3 separate regions of the Homo sapiens genome follow, and all the other regions are linked to region 1. Evidence: promoter capture Hi-C in 16 types of primary human blood cells and fetal thymus (Javierre and others, 2016). All regions are on one chromosome and are shown on one strand. The core of a region is centred on a gene start or on the middle of the fragment in contact, and the rest is flanking DNA. Distances in the headings are between cores, read along the strand shown.

Region 1 (2,770 bases), core at 147-2,646:
ACTAATGGATAAGTTAATCAGGCAATATCCAGACTTTTTTTTCTAGCAAATGCTCCACTTCCCTTACGGGCTAAATTCTTCAAACATACTTACTATTTCCATCTCTTCATCAACTATCTCTTTCATTTCTCCAAACTGGATTCCTTGTTTGCCACTCTATTGAAATTGCTGTTTGAAAGCTACAAAGAGACCTCTTCTGAGACAAATCCAATGGCCCCTTCATTAGGCCCTTTTTAGACTTTTCTGCTCCCTCTGACAACAATGATCACTCTTTTCCACTGGATACTTCTCAGCTTTCGTTAAAGGATATGCTGCCCAATACTATGCCAGATCCTCAAAAAACCCCACATCTCTTCTTTTGCACATCACTCATCCTTTCCTGCTTCCAGGAGTACACAAAGGAAGGCTATGTCCTAAAAGACCGTTTCACTCTCCGCCAGATTCCATCCTTTTGTGAGCCTGCTCAAGACACATCCTCTTTATGAAAACTTCCAACTGGGTTTGCCGTTTCCAGTAACTGAGTCTCCCTGTACTTCGTCACGTAAAAGGCTAACTTGCATTTATTGGAGTGTGTATATACATAATCTCATTAGAACCTAAGCTTTTCAGAAAAAGGGCTGTATTTTCTGTCTCCAGAATTCCTTCACAGCTTGAAGCATAGCACTTGGCATTCAGTAAACTCTCAGTTGATGCTCGAATCAGGCCGCTTTCCCAGATTAAGATTAATGAAAAGCTGAACTACCATCCTGCATTTGCCTATGTCTCAGCTATTCAATGGCCTTTCCACTTTGGCCTCCCCCTCACAGGGAGACTAGCGGCCCGGGGCAGAGAACGCCGCCATCAGATCACAGCATTTTGAGAAGGGAAAGTGGAAAGGGAGGCTCTGGGAGGGTACCCAGATGGCCTTCCTTCGTGATCCAGAGACTCTTTAATAAAAGAGACTGCGATTCGGAGAACATGGAAGGAAGAATTAACATGCAAACCCTTTCCGAAAACTTTTCTGAGCCCTAGGACAGGTTTAGTGTCTGCTCCTGCTAAGTAAGCAGGCTTTTCTCTCCGTCCTCCTCCGCCTTGTGAAGATACTCACAAGGGGCAGGAGATCAAGATAAGGCACCAGGGTGTGGAAGGGGCTTTTAAGCACGCCTGGGGAGCCGGTACCTCCAAAGTTTCAGAATCGGACGAAGGAAAGGTAGGAAGGAGCGCACCGGGGCTGGCGGAAGCAGTCTCTGCCGCTCTTCTTAATTTCAGGAGGTTGCTGGGACGCATGACTCACCTTCCCTGAACCCGCGAGCTGGAAGCCGAGACCAGCTGGTCGCTGCCGGGCCCGCTAGTAGCCCACGGAGAAGCCGCCCACAGCCGGACACCAGAGCCTTGAGGGCCGCCATCTTCAAAAACCTACCCTGACCTCTCGTCCATTTCCGCTTCCGGAACGTAGCGCCCGCCGCCGCAGTGGTGGGGCAGGAACGGCGGGGCGGGGTTGTAGTTCGCTTGCTCCTGTCACATCATTTCTCTCACCTGTCCGCTTTGGGATACGAAGAGAGGCTTCTGCGTCAAGCCTATATTTCGTGTTAAGGATCTAGGGGAGGTCTTCTAGCTCCTGTCTGCCAATGCCTACAAGTCTTCAAGGTTGCATTCGTTTCCTGGAAGGCTTCCTTAGGAAAATCGCACGCAACACCCCACCTATGTCTTTAAAGCTTTCTCTTCACTGCACGTGAGCTGTGGACTTTTAGCTTCTGTGACTGGGGCTAGACCTCTACGGGAGAGGCTGAAATGGTTAGGAACTCTGGCTCTGGAGTATCGGATATCAGGCAGACCTGGGATAGAATTGATACCCCCTTCTTCCCTGACCACTGCCACACTGATCTTTGATTTGCATATACTTAGACCTCTCTCTAGCCCCAGGGCCTTGATACAAGCTATTTCCTTTGTCTGCTCTTTAGCTGTCTAGTTAGCTTCTGCTTATTTCTTAGAGCTCACCTCAAACCTTATTTCCACAGTTTTGCTTGACTGCCCATTCTCAGCACCAGATGCCTCTCCATCTTAGTGCTTGGGACAATTTCAGTTTTATGTTTGTTTTGTATGTGTCTTCTCACCAGACTGTAAGCTCCATGAAGTCAGGAACATTGTTTTCTGTTGACTCGCACATCTCCAGCACTTAGAATAGTTCCTGACACATAATAAGAGTACAATATATACTTGTTGAATGAATGAGTAGAATCTATTTTATAGGGCCTAGGGGAGGACTAGACCCTGAAGATTAGATGTGATAAAACATAAGTGATCGGCCGGGTGTGGTGGCTCATGCCTGTAATCCCAGCACTTTGGGAGGCTGAGGCGGGTGGATTACCTGAGGTCAGGAGTTCAAGACCAGCCTGACCAACATGGTGAAACCCTATCTACTAAAAATACAAAAATTAGGTGGGTGTGGTGGCGGGCACCTGTAATCCCAGACACTTGGGAGGCTGAGGCAGGAGAATCGCTTGAACCCAGGAGGCGGAGGTTGCAGTGAGCCAAGATCACACCATTGCACTCCAGCCTGGGCGACAAGAGTGAAACTCCGTCTCAAAAACAAAACAAAACAAAACAAAACAAAACAAAAGGGCTCAATAAACATAAGCTAGTTAATAGAGCAGTTATGGAGATGACTCTTTTCACAAGTTGGACTCACTTGTGTTGTAAGGAAGCTTATGGTACCAAAGAGAAAATACAACTGCCAGTTTTTCCTCTTTCAGATTTGTGAGACGTATAGGATGTTCCTCTGGAGCTCCAC
Region 2 (2,770 bases), core at 148-2,647, 650 kb after region 1:
TGCCTCTATGGGATTTGGGGGGTGCAGTCCACATAGGCCAACCTCCCAGGCAGGCACAAAACAAGGTGGAGACAGTGGGAGTGGACCTGGGAGGGATACAAGGATGGGCAGCATATGCCATTTTTGCCTCATCATTCCTCTGATGAGAGATCTGCAGTGACTTCCTAGTCCATATTGGGTTAAACCTCATATTGAAGGAATTCCACTTCAACCTCACGTAATTCAGCCTTTTCCTTTCCTGTTCTGTAGAGTATAGGCATTCCACTCACAGAAGCTGCTGTCCTTACTCTGCATGTCTGTTTTATATATTACATAGGTTACACACATTTTAAAATCTTAGTCATTGATTTATGTTACTCAGAAATCCAAGTCCAAAGGGACTTTTGTGTTTCTGGGACAAGCGTCCTCCCAGGCCTCTCCCAGGCGGTCTGGCAGCCTAGGATGTAGCCCTGACAGCCTGGCCAGTACTGAGATGACAAACGGACCTGCTCATTGCTGAGGGCACATATAAGAAGGCTCTGGCACAGTGGTGAAAGCTTAGGCTCTGAATCTAAAGAGACTGGATTTAAACTCCAGCTTTGCCAGTTACGGTGGTGGGATGAGTTACTTCTGCCTTCTGAGTCTGTCTTTCCTCATTTGTAAACAGAGGATGATTCTACTAGCACTTCACTGTGGTTGGGATTAAATGAGATAAACAAATGTAAAGAGATGGGCAAAGCTATCAGGGGAACTCAGTCAGGGAAAGGACTGTGTTTTACTCACCTTTAAATTCTTGTACCTAGCACAGTGCCTGGAACATAGCAGGTGTCTGGTCATTGTTTCCTGGCCTGAACTGATGGGGAGGCCCTCTGGCTATTTGGGAGCTGGCCATGTTAGTCAGTTCTGAGGTAGCAAATGCTCTCTCTCCCCTATCTTTGCCAGGCTTCTTCTGCCTACCATTGAAGGGTTCTGACGGTGGCCGTGTGTCAGTAATCCACTCAACACCTATTTCCCTAGCGCTGTCTTTATACAAGGCTCTGTGATGCCCCTTACTTGAAGTCAACTGTAGACAATCTATGAGCGCATCCCGTTTTCCATACCTGGGTTTATACTGCCCTCTGGTGCACACTTATGGGACACGCGCGTTAAATGAGGGCTTCTGCTGGGTGACCTTTCCTTGACATTGGGGAAGAGAGGCTCCCCTATAGGGACAGCCTGCAGTGCTCTTTCGAGGAGAAGTGGTGTTTAAGACGCCCTCCTCACCCAGTTTAGCTTGTAGCTCTTGAGGCTTACCAAACTCGAGGCTTTTTTTTTTTTTTTACCAATGTCTCTGACCCTAGGCAATTAAATAATACCATCCTTCTAGGCTCAAGTTTCTTTCTCCAGCAGGCACTTTTTGTCCTGCCAAGACTCAAGAGGAATGGGGTAGAGTTTATTTGAGTTTATCTTTCTCCCTCTGCTGTCTGGTTTCCTCTAATCTCTGGGCTCTTGATTCTTATGGCTGCCCCAGCTGCTCTCAAGGGTCTGGGGTTGGGGGAGCCAGGGGAGAACCAGAACCAACGGTTCCTATCCAGTGCCTGGCCCCCTGCTTCCACCCCCGCCTCACTGTCTATCATTCCTTCCCAGAGACAAGCTCCCAGCTACTGAAAGCGAAGTGGGGTCCTTCAGGGAGAAGGAGCAAAGGGGAAGGGAGGGGGTTAAAGTTCAGCCCACCCTCCTCTGGCCTCACCATGAAACCTGCTAGAAGTATTTGTCCTTCATGATTAAGTTGAATAACATAAATTTGCTGATATGCAACTATGTTTCACCTACATAACCAGAAATTTTATATAGTTCAGTGGAAAACTTCACACGTAAACCCTGTGCGTGTTTGTGTTGGCCTGGAGCCCCAGGTTTCCTGAGCTCATTCAGACCCAGGAGAGCCAGGCTTGTGGAACATCAGGATCCCGGACTGTAAAGCTGAAAGGAGGGCCCTAAAGCTGGAGAAACAGTTGAGTTGACCTTAAGGACCTGGGACCACCGCCCCTCCCTGCATCAGGCCTCCATGTTCCTGCACAGGTGCTGCAGTAACCTCCAGGCTGGGCTTGGTTTGGGGTGCTCAGACAGGGGACGGCAAGGGAACACTGAGGAAGGCCTTCTTCTTGCCCAACTGTGCTCACCCTCCCGGCTATACAGGCAAGATTTTCTGGGACCTTCAGGAACCTCAGTCTTCTGGGGACATCTAGCATCCTCCCCTCGCCTCTGCTGCTGAACTCTGGTTGTGGGGCTGCTGTGCACAGGAAGCTTCAGGTGCCAATCCTGGGAAAACACTGGCTGTGCGTTGGGGCCAAGCTGATCAGAGGCAGCTCCACGGCCTTGAGAACACTTTAGCTGGCTCCAGTGCCTCGCCAAACCTTGGGCACAGCTGCCAGGGCAGGCCTGGTGCGACAGGCATCTAAAACTTGCCCAAGGAGTGAGGGCAAGGTGGCCTGGGAGGTTTTAAGCTGCAGAGTAAGGGAAGGCTTGTGAGTCACAGTTCACAGGACTCACTAAGGATGAGAAAGTTTCCCTTCTGTGATTCACTCGCCTGCCTTGCAAAATCACCTGACCAACAGATAGATCTTGATGTCTTGGAACCTGGTGGTTCAGGTTAGAAACCTGGACTCTTTCCTCCTAGGAGGATGCAAGCAAGAGAGGGAGGGGCTCAGCTCAGACCATTGTAATCATCCATCCACCCACCCACCCACTCACTCATTTATTCATTCATTAAATAAATGGTTATTGAGCATTTATATGTGCCAGGCACTGTGCT
Region 3 (2,770 bases), core at 79-2,578, 620 kb after region 1:
AGAATGAGCCAGCTAAGCCCAGCCTAAACGCTAGCTCACAGACTCAGGGGGCAGATACATGGTTGTTGGTTAAGCCACAGAGCATTAGGGTGGTTATACAGCAAAAGCCAACTGACACATGTTCCTACTATATCCCATGGGATTCTCCTTTAGCTGGCTGGCCACCTTTTAGTTTTTGGCACATGTCAAGCCCTTTCTTGCGGGGCAAGGAGGGAGGGTATAAGCTACACACATGTGGAAATGCTCCAAAGCAGGGAGCTTGATTCACCTAGCTCCAAACCTCTCTCTTCCCCAAGCTTCTTCATCTCAGTAAACAGTCATGCCATTCACTGTGTTGCTCAAGCCAATAGCCTGGGAGCCATCTTTGATTTCTCTTTCCCCTCCCCATCTAATCCATCAGTACCAAGGCCCTTGGTACCTGCTGTCCCCTCTGCCTGGAAAGAACTTCCTGTAGCTGACTCCTCCTTTGGGGCTCAGCTCAAAGGTCATCTTCTTGGTGAGCCTTCCCCAAGCACCTTATCTAAGATTCCTCTGTACCCCTCCTTCTTCCTAGTTACTTTCACCCATGTTTACTGCCTGTTCACAATCTGTAAGCTATTACCTTGTTCTTTAACACATTTATTGATTGTCTATCTCTCATGCTAGCATATAATCTCCATGATCTCTTTCCTGCTTACTGCTGTGTCTTCTGTACCAAACACAAAGGATTTAACATAAAGTAAGCACTCAACACGTATTTTCTAAATAAATGAAAGAGGCAAGGAGTTAGGAGGAACATCAGGTAATAAGTAATGAATCCTAGTGTCTTGCTTGACGTCTTGGAATTCTTGGTTGGTTATTGTCCTCAGATGCTGAGAACACTCTGAGTTCTCAACAAAGATGGAATGCAATGGGGCTGAGGGCTGTGAAGAGCAGGTTAGAGGGCTTCTGGAAGGGAAGAGGCACTCACCTGCTGTATGGCGTTGAGCAGCGGGGAAAAGAGGTCAGTGTCATAGGTGGAGTGTTTGCCTTGCAGCACAGCCACCAGCCTTTCCAGGCCCATTCCTGTGTCCACATGCCGCTGGGGCAGGGGCTGCAGGCTTCCATCTGCCTCTCTGGCCAGGGAAGGTGTGCAAGGTGAGGCCCCACCCAGGATTACAGGTGTGAGACAGATGCCCAAGTGGAGTAGAGAAATGGGGGGGGGCCCAAGGGAGCTGACAGTGGGAGGAACCAGACAATCAGTATCTTCCCCTGCCACCCTGCAATAGCAGATGATGATGGCCTTGGGGTCCTGTCCTTCCTCATATAGGGCTATTTCCATTCTCACCCCTGCTTGGGCCCTTGCCTGGGCACCAGACATCCCATCTTGGGACAGAATTCTTTGCCCCTAGAAAGATATGTCAAGGCTAGAAGAAAATCTGAGATCATCAAGTTCAACTCGTTGATCATCAAGTTCAACAGAGAATAGCAGTGACTTGTTTAAGCTGTCACAGGCAAAGACTACAATTAAATCAGTTATTATCTATAAGGTGTTGAGAATTGTGCCTGACACACGGTAAGCACCGTTTACATGTTTGTTTTTATATGAAACAGATCAAAGTCTTCTAATTGCCACCTTTCCCACTTCTAGTCAGGGATTCTCATCCTGCTTCAGCACCCTATTACCTGTTGTGTTGCATGAAGACCAGGTTCCAAAGCTCTACCAGCTGGGGGGCTCCCACCCCACCAGCAAGGTCGTAGTGGATCTCAGTACAGGGCCCACAAGGGCCAGTATCCCCCATCTCCCAGAAGTTCTCTTGTGGTCCAAAGGAAAGCACACGGCTAGCAGGCACCCTGGGGAGAAAAGCAGGTGAGTGGTGGGAGACAGACAGACCCAGAAGCTGGGACTCTCTCTGCCATGAGAGCCCCTCCCTCAAGTCACAGCTCAGCAAGAGGAGGAACAGGGCTGACCCCACAATATCCTGGAATGAAATGCTAAGACTCTGAGGATTGGTGCTGGTAGTCTCCACTTTCCAGTCCTCCTGACCTCCAGGAATGAACATAAGAAGGGGGCTGACTTACCCTAAGCTCAGCCAGATGTCCCTGGTCTCCAGGTCTGGGTCCAGCCCTGCCTTGGGGTCACCATCAAAGTAGGAGATCCAGAGCCTTTCCTCAGGGATCCCATAGACCTGAGTCAGCAGTTCCCAGGCCATGTTACAAGCCTCCTCCTGCAGCAGAAACCAGCATGGGGTGGGGGGGGAAGACGGGTGAGAGGGAGACCCCACTGAAGTAATCAAGCCACATGAGTTTAGCTCCCGACTTAAGACAAAAGCATTTCTGCTGCCATCTTGTTCCCAGAATAAGCCATGAACCATTACTGCCTCTGAGTGTTTTCCTGCCCAGAAAGCTTCCCCCTTCTTCTAAGTCCTATCTTCTTTCAAGTCCCAGACCAAGTCCCACTTTCACATGAAATTCTCTGCCTACTCTAGCCTAGAGTGATCTTTAACTCCAGTAAGCACCTTAGCATTGCTGTTTGACCATTTATTCAAACAACAATTTTTGAGTGATCATTAGGCAGAAAGTACAGTCTCTGCCCTTCAGGGACTTACAATCCAATCAGGGAGGTGAGGTAATTCCTGTTACACCGGCTCAACTAGCACTTTGCCTCCACATCTGGTATGAGGCCCTGCCTAAGCAGACAGTACAATGGAAACAGGACAAATTGACTCCCTTCTTGGCTGATCACTGATCCCCAGAGACTCACCTTAAAATATTCACCCCCAAAGGCCCAATTGCCAAGCATTTCAAAGAA

The links. The method cuts DNA at HindIII sites, captures the fragments that hold promoters and counts their contacts. A CHiCAGO score of 5 or more calls a contact.
Region 2: a fragment that was not itself captured here is called in contact with the fragment with the promoter of MRPS18A in region 1 in 1 of 17 cell types (activated CD4 T cells); the score reaches 5.0 in activated CD4 T cells.
Region 3: a contact is called between a fragment that was not itself captured here and the fragment with the promoter of MRPS18A in region 1, in 4 of 17 cell types (naive CD4 T cells, total B cells, naive B cells and 1 more). The highest score is 6.4, in naive CD4 T cells.

The regions. Positions count from the first base shown.
Region 1 is chr6:43,686,395-43,689,164 of GRCh38, forward strand. MRPS18A (mitochondrial ribosomal protein S18A) reads right to left here and starts at 1,397. Exons shown (of 6, transcript NM_018135.4): 1 at 1,274-1,397. The coding sequence starts at 1,385. It overlaps LOC124901320 (a long non-coding RNA gene), which reads left to right and starts at 2,568. Exons shown (of 2, transcript XR_007059586.1): 1 at 2,568-2,770. RefSeq lists enhancers at 1,151-1,210, 1,156-1,767. The HindIII fragment of the contact is 1,093 bases long and covers 600-1,692 here.
Region 2 is chr6:44,337,609-44,340,378 of GRCh38, forward strand. No RefSeq gene overlaps it. Among named protein-coding and RNA genes, the nearest start is that of SPATS1, 3.7 kb to the right of the region's middle. The HindIII fragment of the contact is 1,726 bases long and covers 535-2,260 here.
Region 3 is chr6:44,309,350-44,312,119 of GRCh38, forward strand. AARS2 (alanyl-tRNA synthetase 2, mitochondrial) reads right to left here. Exons shown (of 22, transcript NM_020745.4): 2 at 2,723-2,770; 3 at 2,041-2,186; 4 at 1,645-1,812; 5 at 950-1,094. The region is part of intron 2 of LOC124901322 (a long non-coding RNA gene); the gene reads left to right. Among named protein-coding and RNA genes, the nearest start is that of AARS2, 2.6 kb to the right of the region's middle. The HindIII fragment of the contact is 2,069 bases long and covers 295-2,363 here.